5 separate regions of the Homo sapiens genome follow, and all the other regions are linked to region 4. The links are contacts of gene promoters, found by promoter capture Hi-C in blood cells and fetal thymus (Javierre and others, 2016). All regions are on one chromosome and are shown on one strand. The core of a region is centred on a gene start or on the middle of the fragment in contact, and the rest is flanking DNA. Distances in the headings are between cores, read along the strand shown.

Region 1 (2,716 bases), core at 141-2,640, 170 kb before region 4:
CAATTTATTCCATTTAATGATCAAATGTATTATTTGCCTTTAAAGGATATATCTAAATCCCTTAGTTCTACACTAAACAAGTACCAATATATTTTATGATTAATAAGCATTCTTATATTTTTAGCTAGAATGCATTTTTCAGAAGCATGAATTGAGGGGAGTAATCAAAAGATGAGAAAACTATCAATTTCATAAGTATTAATGCCCCTTAAAAATTTAAGTTAGAAACATTATGAGGGAAAAAAACAGCTTCACTTTAATCTTAATCCCTGTAAAGCACACATTTTAGTCAAGACTTGAGATCATAAGAATTTGAAATAATCACAAGCTTTTATTTATTTTTCTCCTCACAATCTGTTCCCATGTTCACAAGATTTTAGATACTATAATAATTTTTGAACAACAACAAAAAAAAATCAGTGACAACTAAGTACCATGTATCATCCCTAAAAAGTAGTTACCATTGAGCATGGTGCTCACGCCTGTAATCCCAGCACTCTGGGAGGCCAAGGTGGGTGGATCACTTGAGGTCATGAGTTCGAGACCAGCCTGGCCAACATGGTGAAACCCCGTCTCTACTAAAAATACAAAAATTATCCAGGCGTGGTGGTGGGTGCCCGTAATCTCAGCTACTTGGGAGGTTGAGGCAGGAAAATTGCTTGAACTCAGGAGGCAGAGGTTGCAGTGAGCCGAGATCACACCACTGCACTCCAGCCTGGGTGACAGAGTGAGATTCCTTCTCAAAAAAAAAAAAAAAAAGAAAAAGTAATTATCATTTTCCTTTTAAGAATTATTGGTAGGAGTTACCACTAAACCTAAAAGAGCCAATAAGTATCATGGAAAAAGAGAAAGAATAAAGCTTAAAGTTTTTATAGCTTTGGAAAGACTTTTTGTAATTTTTTTTTAAATCAAGACAGGGTCTCATTCTGTCACCCAGGCTGAAATGCAGTGGCACAATCACAGGTCACTGCAGCCTCAAACTCCTGGGCTGTGTAGGAAGGGGTCTTGCTATGTTGCCCATGCTGGTCTTGAACTCCTGGCCTTAAGTCATCTGCCTTGGCCCCATGAAGTGCTGAAATTACAGGTGTGAGCTACTGTGCCAAGCCAACTTTCAATTTCTGAAAAATTTTTTGTTAAAAATATCTTGAACACCCAAAAAGAATTACTTATCCTGAAAAATCAACTTTTTTTCTCAACATATTCAGAGCAAGTTAGAGATTCATATTCAAACACTGTTTAAAGGCACTAGCATAATGTAGAAAATTATTCATAGAAGCTTCACGATAATCTTGCTAGATAAAAAGGAAATGAGGATAAAAAGAGGAAAAGAAATAAAACTAGCAAAGTTTAAAACAGATACTTGATTATGTTTCCTAACTAGAAATCCTGTCCTTTTCCCCTTACTAAACAGCTTCCTCCAAATTAACTGAATTGCATGTTTCATAAAACAGTAAATAATTTTTCCATGGTGGCCAGGCTGAAAAACCAACTATCTAAAGCTTTCCACTTCATCTTCATCCTCGGAGTAAGAAAACTGGGGCGGGGTGGGGAGGGGACTCTTTAATACTTTTTTCATACCAACTAGAAGTTAGAGAAAATACAATTTGTGGCCAGGCACAGTGGCTCATGCCTGTAATCCCAGCACTTTGGGAGGCCAAAGCAGGCATATCACCTGAGGTCAGGCGTTTGAGACCAGCCTGGTCAACATGGCAAAACCCCATCTCTACTAAAAATAGAAAAATTAGCCAGGCATGGTGGCATGTACCTGTAATCTCAGCTACTAGGGAGGCTGAGGCAGGAGAATTGCTTGAACCCAGGAGACGAAGGTTGCAGTGAGCCGAGATTACGCCACTGCACTCCAACCTGGGCGACAGAGTGAGACTCAGTCTCAAGAAAAAAGAAAATACAATTTGGGAAATAAAATGATACAGCCTCTCACACATTAAGGTCCAGATCGTGCCTAAATTTCTAGTGATTTGAGTTAGAAGACCTGAAAGATTCTCCTTTGTCTCTTATCTCACTCTAATCCCACAACACTCTACCCCAGATGGGGCGGGGAATCCCATGACACTGTACCCAAGAAAGGTAGCCATTTTAAAAATATGTTCAGCAAAACTGAAAAATAATTACATGGGACAAATCTCCCTATCCTGAACAACTAAACTGTTAGGCTGAGGGAGGGGAAAGCCAAAAAAAGATATAGAACACAACCTGAAATTTATATAACACTAAATTTAAAACATGATTTGGTTTAAACCACTTTAGAATTAATTTTCTCCTTATAATCATCTAGCCTGAGACAAAGTAGCTATGAATAACAATTTTCCAGTATTTTCAAACTGAAATTCAACTGAGTCTTATTTTAACAATACAAATACAAAGAAAGAACTAGAACTGCCTTATACTTTAAATCACATTTACGCAAAAAATCCTGAACTTTGACTAATACAGTTTTTTAAATAGCACTTTAAATATCCAAACCTAAAAGTATTTGGAAATAACTTTGTTGCATACCATAGCAAAATTGTCTAAAACAAGATTTGTCAATTTACAAATCTATTTACAATACTAGAGTTTTTAGTCACCTGATACTCAGGACTCAACGTCTGTACTCAGACGACCCACAACTGCCAAAATGCAGAGCTTTATTTATTTTTTTATTATTTGAGACAGGGTCTCATTCTGTCGCCCAAGCTGGAGTGCAGTCGTGCGATCA
Region 2 (2,700 bases), core at 182-2,681, 180 kb before region 4:
TTTCCCTTACTTTCCGTACAACTGCAGAATGCCTCTAACTTAAGACTGGTTTTCAACAGGGAATACCAGAATTTCATGTAGACATATGTATATTTTTTTTAACCTGAATGAAGATGCCTGGGATTTCATCACAGACCGACTACTGAATAGGGGTTTACAGGGAATAAGATCACAGAATGTATATGTGTATAAAGCTTCACAAGTGATTCTGGCTAACAGCCATTACTCTGAAGCATGAAATGCAGCTGGAATGAAAATGGATTGGCTTGTATTTACTACCTCTTTAAGCATTGCTAGTTAATTCATTTTTTTCTGAAGAGTCTAGGAAAGAACAGCAACCAAAGACCTGAACCACCTTCTTCTGCAGATTACCTAAATACTTTTTTTTTTTTTGAGGCGGAGTCTCACTCTGTTGCCCAGGCTGGAGTGCAGTGGCATGATCTTAGCTCACTGCAAGCTCTGCCTCCTGGGTTCACACTATTCTCCTGCCTCAGCCTCCCGAGTAGCTGCGACTACAGATGCCTGCCACCACGCCTGGCTAATTTTTTGTATTTTTAGTACAGACGGGTTTTCACCGTGTTAGCCAGGATGGTCTCGATCTCCTGACCTCGTGATCCGCCCGCCTTGGCCTCCTAAAGTGCTGGAATTACAGGCGTGAGCCACCACACCTGGCCAGATTACCTAAATTCTTCAACCTAGAGGAAAAAACAATTATATTTACATAACAAAAAATTAGCCGGGCGTGGTGGCAGGCACCTGTAGTCCCAGCTACTTGGGAGGCTGAGGCAGGAGAATGGCGTGAACCCAGGAGGCAGAGCTTGCAGTGAGCAGAAATTGTGCCATTGCACTGTACCACAGCCTGACTAAAATGACAACTACTATTTCACATGGTGGTAGATAATTTTCAATATACTTATTTTTAGTAGAGACAGGATTTCACCGTGTTAGCCAGGATGGACTCGATCTCCTGACCTCGTGATCCGCCCGCCTCGGCCTCCCAAAGTGCTGGGATTACAGGCGTGAGCCACCGCGCCTGGCCACCCAGCAGTCTTCTTAAGCTTCTTAAGTTGAAGTGGTAGAGCTAGGAGTCTGGGGAAGCCCAGATGGCCGGGGTTCTCAATGCAGAGTACTGGAAAGGAGAGACACACTCAGAGAGAACGCTGGAGATCTATAGAGGATCTCCTTAGAGTATCTAGTTGAGTAGTGATCATTGTATGTATGCATGTGGGGAACTACTCAAGGGATTCTCCTGCCTCAGCCTCTCTCGAGGAGTTGAGATTACAGGCACGCCACAACACCCGGCTAATTTTTTATATTTTTGGTAGAGACCGGGGTTTTGCCATCTTGGCCAGCCTGGTCTCGAACTCCTGACCTGAAGTGATCTGCCCACTTTGGCCTCCCAAAGTGCTGGGATTACAGGCGTGAGCCACCGTGACCGGCCAATAAAGTAGTTTTTCTAGTACACTGTTACATGATTATACTACCATAAGCATTTAGTTTTCTAATTTCTTTTTAAGCACCATGGCCCTTTTGAAATTATATCAAATGCAGAAGTACCTTTTCAGAAATCATAGTTAACAGCAGTTTGACTACTACTGGTGTGAGGAAAACAAACACATGAAAGGGAGTAATGAAAAGAGAGAGTGGAAAATAGAAAAAGTATGTCACAGAATCAAGTCAGGAAATTGAAAGTACCTTAGAAAAGAAATTGAGAATCTCTTCCACTGACATGAGAGAAAAAGAAAATAGAAAATGAGAAGACCAAAATAAATTTTTCAGAAGAAGTCACAAGTTGAGAAGCTTTAGTGAGATGGATTCAAATGTGCTCTAGAAGAGAATTCAGTTGTTTCCATTTGCCAGTGGCTATGCTCTAGAAGCAGATGCTTAAGAGGTATGTAAGAAATCCTTCTACACCTATTTATCTTTAAAGGGCCAATTACAAAATATGGAAGAATTAAGGGGTTAAGACTCAGGGGATAAAGGTTCTAGTATTAGAGGTTGTCAATATCATTGTTAAAAGCACATAAATTTTCATTTGGCTTGATCAGAAACTCACAATCATGACTATACGTAACAGATAATTAGGACGCATTTCAAGTATTTATTGTAATCTCTCTTTTTTTGCATTAAGGGGGATAAAGTAAAAAGAAGAAAGTCACAAGATTCCTTGGAAAAGTCTACAACCATTATACAAAGCATCTGATCCTTGTGTCAGTATACCAATATTGTTTATAATAAATAAGAGGTAGGCAGCATGTCATAATGAAAGAACAAAGGTAGTCAGAACTGAGGTTTCATCATAAATGTATCACTTATTTTTTGTGTGACCTTGGACAAGTTACTTATCACAGCAAGCCTTGGCTGTCTCATTTATAATACAGTGGTAATACCTATCTACCTTGTAGAGTTGTAAGCACTAGCAATAATGTGTAGAACACACCTAGAACTATTATTAATATATTAATTGGAGCTACTAACATAAATAAAAACTATAATTTCTGCCCTCAAAAGGGTTAGCAATGAGGAGGTGTTACTGAGATATTCCACGGACATTATTTCTTTTATTCCAAAGGCAATCTGATGAATACCTCATGCCCATTTCAAGGTGACTCTGATTTCACTTCACAATACACAGCTTTCCTTTTGTTGTTGTTGTTGTTCTGAGACAGTCTCCCTCTATCACCCAAGCTGGAGTGCAAT
Region 3 (2,700 bases), core at 163-2,662, 140 kb before region 4:
TTTTGAAGCCCCTTGCACAGGGAACCTGTTCTGACACATTCTTGTGGTGTCCAGTAAAGGAATTTCACCTGAGTAGGGATCAGCTCCAGTGCTAATATTTCAGATGCTGGGAATCCCCTGCAGGCCTTAGCCAAAAGAGTTCTTAAATGAAAAGTCTCTGCCTGAGCTCCCTCCCTGCAACCAGCCCTTGAACGGAAAAGCAGAGAAAATTCTCAAAGGACAGCGTCTGTGCCTGGGCTGGTCCTCCTGGGAGAGGAGAGGAATAAAACCAATCCAGAGAGGGCACCCCCATCTTTGTAAAGGAGAAGGGAGAAGTAATTAGAATGCCACGGAGGTGGGAAGAGAAAAAAAAAGAAAAGAAAATTCGGGCCCTTTCCATCGGGCCCTTTCCAGCAAGAAGATGACGAGGAAAGGAAGAACGCCTGGTCGAGGGGGGCTGTCCCAACATGGGGAGGGAGTGGACTAGGCCGGAGGGAGAGGGGGTGGAACGACGGCGCAAAAACAAGCTGGAAAGGGAGGAAAATGGTGACCCTGCACTCAGAACCGGCTCCAGGCCACGCCGCCCGCTTGGGGGCAACTTTGCTGGGGAGGAGGGTCCCGGTAAGAGAAGACGCGGCGCCCCGATCGCGGTGGCCCCAGCGCGGGGCCCAGTCTGGGGCCATCCCCGAGCCCGGGAGGCCGGGGCCGGCGGCTCGCGGAGCCTGGCGGGGCCGGACGGGCTGAGAGCGGCTAGAAGCGACCGGTGCCGCAGAGCCCCGGGGGCCGACGGAATCTGGGCCCCGAGCGGCCGGCGGCTCCGCGGGGGAGGGGCCGCCACTGCTCCGCCCGCCCCCTCCACCGTCACCCCGATCCCTTCGGCCTCTGCCCGCTCCGGCCAAAGAAGCCATGGGGGTCGCGGCTCAGCCGCCCCCGGCGGGACGGGGACCCCTCGCCTCCCCTGGCCCTGTCTCCCTGTCTCCCTGTCTCCCCGCCCCCACGCCCCACCCCCCACAGCCTGACTCACCTCGCGAGTAGAGGGACTTGGGCGATTCCAGGTCTAGGTCCGCGCTGAGCAATGAGATGAAGTCCGAGGGCATCGCAGCTCGACCCAGCCCGGCCCGAGGGCAGCGGGAGGGGGGGAGCGGCGGTGGCGGCGGCACCTCCTCTCCGGGACCGCGGGCACCGAACCGGGGGCGGCGACGCGAGGGCGGCTGCCGCTGCCTCCTCCTCGAGGGTAGTGACTTCCACTGGGCCGAGGACCGAGGAAACGATGGCGAGGTGGAGGGGGAACTCCACGGGGACTGATTCTCGGTGACCAGGAGAGGGGTTCAGGACGGGGAAGGGGAAGGGGGAGAGCCAAAGGGTCCGTTTCGTGTTTCTCCTCAGCGAAAACTGACGGTCGCCGCCACCGCCGCCGCCGCTGACAGGAATCTGAGCCCCGCCCCCGTGGGGCACAGCGCAGGCGCGGAGGGGGGTGCCCGGGAGCGCGGAAGAGCCGTGGCGGCCCCCGGAGGGCGGGGAGGCGCGCCAGGGAACAGCAGCAACATGGGCCTCGCTTCCTGCCGGCGCGGCCCGGGCTGCTGCTGTTCCTGAGCCGGGAAAGGGCCCCGCTGCCAGGGTGGGAGGGGGGGAGGCTGGGAGGTGGCCGCGCGCTGGGGCCCCGGGGAGGGAAAAGGTATTTGCAACGACCTGGTGGCGGCGAGCCTGAGGCGGCCGGCCCCGAGCAGAGCTGAGCGCAGGAGACAGAGCCGAGAGAAGCGAGAGGTCTGCGCGAGCCGGGGACGGACCCCAGAGGCCGGCGGCGGACGGGCCTGGCTGGCCCGGGGTCTCGCAGGGGACCGGAGTGTCATCGCCCGGACAGCCGCCAACCCTTTGGGGTTTGCATAGCAGTGTGTACAAAGGGACTGTCAAACCCATTTCTTAATTAGGAAATGGCAAACCGTATCCCAAAAACCTCGAGTTATTGATTTTTAATTAAAGTACTTTCTCCCCTAACACTCCCCTCCTACCTTTGGAGGCTGAAATTTTTTTTAAAAAAAACGATCTCTCTGATTGTGCTGGGGCATCCGGGTTATTCGGAGTGGGACATAGAAGACAATTAAAAAATTGGATCATGTGAATCCACCTGGCTGTTCTAGAGGAAAAACAGGTAAAAAGCAAACCTCAACGCTACTCTTCCAAACAGTTTTTCTTTTTTCTGTTTCTTTTTTTTTCCTTTTGGACTAGGCAAAGATGGAGGAAGAACGCATTTAACTGAGTTTTTGCTCTTGCTTTTCTGTTCGTGGAGCCAAAAGTTTCCGTTGCAAAAATTTAAAATCCTCACCCACACCGCAGAGCGTTTTCTGATTCTAATAGACTTCTGAGAAATTTTTAATCAAGTTATTGAAATATTACCTGGAGTGCAGGGTGTGCATCTTGGGAAGTAATTTTAATCTTGTGTGGAATATTGATGCCAGTAGCCACGTGGGCATGGTTTTTAAGCTATTCGAATGGTTTCGTTTTTTATCTACAAGGATAGTTACAACTCATGAAAATCAGTCTGTTGTAATATGTGTATGTGTATATATATGCACACATATATATACATACATATATACACACATATATACATATATATATAATTATAGAGACTTTTTCCCATGAAATTGAGCAGTTCTCGGGACTTGGAGTGCTAGGGTTGGGGTAAGAAGCTCTCAGCAAAGGAGGGCCCAGTACAGATGT
Region 4 (2,700 bases), core at 98-2,597:
TAAAAGTCAGGATGCAGAGATTTCTCTTTTAGGCCCCAAATTAATCGAAAAAATATTTCACTAGTATATTTGCTTCAGAGAAATAGAAGTGAACTTTCACAAGTCATTAATCTATTGCTCAAAATAAAATGATCACACACAAACCGAAAATCAAAGCTTCAAACATACACACACCGAAAATCAAAGCTTCAAACCAATCTTTAGCGGCTGCATATCACTAGTTGCCTGGGGTTGGGAGAGAATGACTGCAAAGGGAAAGGAAGCTTTTTAGAATGATGGAAATGGTTTATGTCTTAACATGGATGAATACATTTTTCAAAACTCATCAAAATGTACATTTTAGATAGGCACAATTTACGTATGTACATTACACCTCAATAAAGTTTTAAATATTTAGAAGTCTATCCTGTTTCCTTAAAAAAAAAATTAGTTGCACCATGGTCTCAAAAATAATTTTTAAAATGAGATGTAATGCAACAGACTTGAAGATTAAATAAAACAGTCTTGAATATTTAAGAAAAATGACAAAACATGAGTCAAAAACAAAAAAAAAGGGTTGATTTATGAGTTTCTGGCCTCAAGGTCAACTCAGATTAGGGGGAAAAAAAAACAGTGGAGGCATAATCAAGATGGGGAAGCGTGTGGAGAGAAATCTCAGCTTCTACTCTAGAAGACGAAAACCAAAACCGGTATTACTTCAGAAGGCACACTGGAAAAGCACAGATGTGGGTGCACTTCAGACCTAGGTTCAACGGATCTAAGCTGCTAACTCTATGGCCCTGAGAGTCCTCAACCTGTGAGCCTCAGTTTCCCTTTCTGTAAAATAAAGATAATGATGGCTTAGAGTTTAGCTGAGCACACAGCAAATGCTCGACACATAAGTAATACATGATATTACATAAGGCACCAGAACTCGGAGCTGACTGGAAATGCATGCAAACTAAAGCCCTCCCCCAATCCCACCCCAGTTTCCCTCTGAGGGTCGTGATCCCTTTCTTACGCCTTATCGCCCCCAGCCAAGCCTCCCTTCCTTCCCACATACACTCCACACAGCCTTTTCACCCCTCGCCCCAGCAGCTTCAGAGGCCTCCCACCTCCCAGGCCCCACCTCGTTGAGGAAGCGGGTGACATCGTAGACTCGCCCATGGATCACAAGCCACAGTTCCTTCAAGGAGTTGCGCTTTGCCACCTCCTCCAACCGGTAATAGGTGACTGAGGTCTCGACTTCCTGCCCTTTCCCATCGCTGCCGCTAGCTTCCGCAGTCGCCATTGAACCGGACATACTGCCTCTCCACCGCTAACTGAGATTCCGCGACTACTTTCCTTGAGAGCCCGCGCTCAGCCTTCCTCGGCTTCCGTAACCAGGGCCCATAAGGCCTTGAGACGGTTCCTAGCAACAGCCAATCACACTTCCGAATAGTTCCTGGTTCGTTTTCTTTTCACCAATGAAGGGAGTGGCTCAGTTCGAAATCCCGCCCACTCCTCGCCCGATCCTCCAGATGAAAGTCTGGTTCGAGGTCCAACTAACCAATTAGGGTCGTTCAGCCCCCTCCAACCTCGCCAATCAGATACCGCGATTTTTGGACTGGCGCCCAAAAGAGGCGTGCTGACAGGTGTCACTTCAGGAGAGGTACCACTTCTCTCAGCCTGTGGGCCTTTAGGGTCTCCAGTGTTCTGCTTCCCTTCCCATCGCTGTGGCTTTCTCCTGAGTCTCAGAAAGTTCCTATCCCCTACACTACCGGCGCAGCCTGTATCCCAACCCTGATTTTACATCTTTGCTGCCTCCAGGTCGTGATCTGGCCAATCCCGTCTCTCCTCAATTTCCCCATCAGTAAAATGGGCTTGATAAAGCACTCTCTTACAGAGGGGTTTGCCTTTTTTTTTTTTTTTTTTTTTTTTGAGACAAGTTCTCGCTCTGTCTCCTAGGCCAGAGTGCAGTGGCACGATCTCGGCTTACTGCAAACTCCGCCTCCCAGGTTCAAGCGATTCTCCTACCTCAGCCTCTCGACTAGCTGGAACTACAGGCATGCGCCACCACGCCCGGCTAATTTTTGTATTTTTAGTAGAGAGTAGGTTTCACCATGTTGGCCAGGCTGGTCTCGAACTCCTGACCTCAGGTGATCCGCCTGCGTAGGCCTCCCAAAGTGCTGGGATTACAGGCGTGAGCCACCGCGCCTGGCCCGGTTTGCCTATTTTAATGAGAGTGCCTGTAAAGCGCTTGGCGCATAGTAATCGCTAAACATGGCAGTCGATTAGAAAGGCAATTGCTGTCCCGGACAGCAATTGGGGGTAGAATGTGGAGTATCCTATGTTTCTACCATCATTCAGAATCCGATTTTCAAACGAATTCTGTGATGATCAGGATCAATCGGCACTATTTTAGTCTCTACGTGATCTAAAATAGAATTGAACTCAACTGCTCTCCGCTAGAGGTCCCAGCACTTTGGAATTCCAAGTTTGGTTAAGGTACAGTGTTGTGCGCCACTTTTTAACTGCCATTACAACTGACAGATTGCTCTTCCTATGATGTCGTCGTTTTCATCCTGTCACTCTCGCAGTCTACCATTCAGGGCTCTCCACAATCCATTCGCAACCTCTTTCACTAACGTATAATATTTTCCACCATTCCCTTTATAAGCCTGTTGCACCCGCCCCGACTCTGAAACCTGCTGGTTTAAAACCACATCCGTGGTCATCCCA
Region 5 (2,700 bases), core at 181-2,680, 200 kb before region 4:
GATGGGAGTGCATAAAAGTATGAATTGTGTAGAAGCAGATAAAGGCTTGATAGACGCTCTTTTACCCAATATTCTGGATTGTGGATTAGCAGCATCATATTTACTTATTCCCTTAGTAACAGGAAGAGGAAAAAAATCTAAATTGGTGAATCTGAGAAACACATTTTAAAAAATTAAACAACAAAAAAATGTCCATGAACACTCATATGCCCAGTCTTTAAATTTTAAAATTTAAATTAATTTAAAACTTGTCAAACACAAACCTTTATGGCAGAACTAGAAGTCTGTTCCCACCAGGCCCTCATACCTGAGAGCAGCCAATCCGGCTCCTTCAAAACTCTGAAGAATTAACTATATCAAGAGTCAATATTTTTACACATTTCATATTTTTTCTTTTTTCTTTTTGAGACGGAGTTTCACTCTTGTTGACCAGGCTGGAGTGCAATGGCACGATCTTGGTTCACTGCAGCCTCCGCCTCTCGGGTTCAAGCAATTCTCCTGCCTCAGCCTCCAGAGTAGCTGGGATTACAGGCGCCCGCCACCACGCCCGGCTGATTTTTTATATTTTTAGTAGAGACGCAGTTTCACCATGTTGATCAGGCTGGTCTTGAACTCCTGACCTCAGGTGATCTGCCGGCCTGGGCCTCTCAAAGTGCTGGTGTGAGCCACCATGCCTGGCCCATATTTTTTCAAAAATGCTAAAGATTTTTTAAAAACCCATACAAGTCTAAATTAATATGCCTTTCCCTAGACATCTATCTAGCCTTCTGGCTAGAAAAACATTGAGTAACTTGGTAATATACTCCAAGTAACTCTGACAGTTATATCACCAAGAATATTAGTATGTCAAATAAAAATATAATTCTAATGATATATACTGATTTCCTTAAAATAATTATTCTGTGATTTAAACTCTCTTGTTTATAATGGTAAGGTATGAAGTGCTCTTTCTAAGCTATTAGAATCCTAGAATAATCTACATTGGTTGCTAAATTTATATTTTGAAAAAGATTTTAAATGACTTGTTAATGATCATATAAACTTTCTGTGTGTGACTATAACAAAACTAGAAAGTTTACCTTCTTACTCTCTTTGCCATCTTTACAATGTCAATAATTTCAAGATAATAAGAATGCATTACTTCAAAATACTTCTTTTAATTAGATTTCTTATTTTCATGATTTTTCAACTCACAGCTTTCAATGTAATTTATCTTGAGAGATTTTTCTTAAATATACTGTGGTGGGGAGAAGGTTAATATTTCATTAGGGACCCAAATTCAAGAACTTTTAATATATTTTTATATATATAAGAATTTCTAAAATTCAATTTGGTATTATCTAAAAGGAAGAACTGTTCTTTTTCTAAACCTAACAATTTTTTCAGCTTTTAAAAGGAACTGGATCTACCGTCAACAGATGTTAAAAAGCACAGAAGAAACAGACTTTTAGTTCTATATAGATTCAACGTATCTTTAAAAAACAATCTCAAAAGATACAAAAGAAATCAGTTAGTCAATTTCTACTTGTGGATTTAAAGTGAAGTATCTCATAAAAAATATTTTATCTTTGTCATATTTTATTATTGGATGCAATTTTAAAACCAGATTTAAAACTTAAAATTCCAGAAAAATATCATCAGAGCCATTTTAGAACCCAGTGGATATAAAGCAAACCAGGTCATCTTATCAATTTGATTACTAAAAAGTTCACTAATTCACAATTAAATCCACAGAAACTGTTAGAAAGTGTCTGGCAACACATGAACAGTGAACAGGGCTGATCAGTTTCTTTGCCATATTTAAAGTTTTCCTGCCTTCAACCAGGAAGGCTTCAGCAATGCACTATGCAGCCTGAGAAAGATTGGTACATAAGGTTAATGGTACATAGGTTAATGCATATGAGAAATATATCTGAAGTTATACTATAGTACCAATATCCTCATTTAAACCACAACCTTACACTTTACTGTTCTCATTTTGAAACTAAAATAATTTACTGAAAACAATGCTCTGATAAACTTTAAATATCATTTTTAAAGATGAGAGGTGTCATATTAGGCAAGAAACCTCTAATTAGGACAGATAAAACTTCAAAATATATATATATATATATATATATATATATATATATATATATATATATATATATATATATGTTTCCTTTTTTTAAAACAAACACACTTAGCAGTCTATAAATCCAATATTAGGTGGGTAAACTAACATTACAGGAAGGACTGATACTAATTTGTCACTGATAACACTTTTTTCTATTAGCTTGTCTATCTTTTATTTTTATGTAAAATAAAAATTTGAGCCAATTGTATATCATTAAGTGTATGATTTGAGAGCTGAGTAAAAATAAGTCTAATAAATTTCAAACATTACTTTCTATACCTTTTCATCAATATAAGAAAATGTCTTTATATAAATATTATATTGACGTCCTCCATTACTTTCAATAAATTGAAAACTACGAAGTCACATATATTTTTAAATATAATAAAAAGGTTTCAGTAACATGCTATGAATATAAAAGACACTTGAGTGCTTCAGTCATTTTTCAGATCATATAAAATATTTTCCCTTGGTGCAAGTCTTTAAAATTAATTATTAAACAGAAACTCAAATATAATTTTCTATTCACAGCTTGGTATTTAACCTTTTTAAGCACAGTCAACCAAACAACTTTAAGCTGGTTC

Evidence for each region. The method cuts DNA at HindIII sites, captures the fragments that hold promoters and counts their contacts. A CHiCAGO score of 5 or more calls a contact.
Region 1: a fragment that was not itself captured here is called in contact with the fragment with the promoter of CYB5B in region 4 in 2 of 17 cell types (activated CD4 T cells and total B cells); the score reaches 6.2 in activated CD4 T cells.
Region 2: a fragment that was not itself captured here is called in contact with the fragment with the promoter of CYB5B in region 4 in 3 of 17 cell types (activated CD4 T cells, M1 macrophages and endothelial precursors); the score reaches 7.2 in activated CD4 T cells.
Region 3: the fragment with the promoter of NFAT5 here is called in contact with the fragment with the promoter of CYB5B in region 4 in 6 of 17 cell types (activated CD4 T cells, megakaryocytes, endothelial precursors and 3 more); the score reaches 7.2 in activated CD4 T cells.
Region 5: a fragment that was not itself captured here is called in contact with the fragment with the promoter of CYB5B in region 4 in 10 of 17 cell types (activated CD4 T cells, monocytes, M2 macrophages and 7 more); the score reaches 9.3 in activated CD4 T cells.

Annotation. Positions count from the first base shown.
Region 1 is chr16:69,590,124-69,592,839 of GRCh38, reverse strand. The region is part of intron 2 of NFAT5 (nuclear factor of activated T cells 5); the gene reads right to left. Among named protein-coding and RNA genes, the nearest start is that of NFAT5, 26 kb to the right of the region's middle. The HindIII fragment of the contact is 223 bases long and covers 1,279-1,501 here.
Region 2 is chr16:69,606,814-69,609,513 of GRCh38, reverse strand. The region is part of intron 2 of NFAT5 (nuclear factor of activated T cells 5); the gene reads right to left. Among named protein-coding and RNA genes, the nearest start is that of NFAT5, 42 kb to the right of the region's middle. The HindIII fragment of the contact is 742 bases long and covers 1,061-1,802 here.
Region 3 is chr16:69,564,678-69,567,377 of GRCh38, reverse strand. NFAT5 (nuclear factor of activated T cells 5) reads right to left here and starts at 1,412. Exons shown (of 15, transcript NM_138713.4): 1 at 1,004-1,412. The coding sequence starts at 1,076. It overlaps MIR1538 (microRNA 1538), which reads left to right and starts at 1,510; the gene lies at 1,510-1,570. RefSeq lists silencers at 617-926, 947-1,216, 1,511-1,687, 1,407-1,786 and an enhancer at 2,448-2,700. The HindIII fragment of the contact is 15,576 bases long and covers 1-2,700 here.
Region 4 is chr16:69,423,266-69,425,965 of GRCh38, reverse strand. It overlaps CYB5B (cytochrome b5 type B), which reads right to left and starts at 1,347. Exons shown (of 5, transcript NM_030579.3): 1 at 1,109-1,347. The coding sequence starts at 1,282. RefSeq lists enhancers at 969-1,516, 1,517-2,064. The HindIII fragment of the contact is 7,938 bases long and covers 266-2,700 here.
Region 5 is chr16:69,626,780-69,629,479 of GRCh38, reverse strand. All of the region lies in intron 3 of NFAT5 (nuclear factor of activated T cells 5), which reads right to left. Among named protein-coding and RNA genes, the nearest start is that of NFAT5, 62 kb to the right of the region's middle. The HindIII fragment of the contact is 5,008 bases long and covers 1-2,700 here.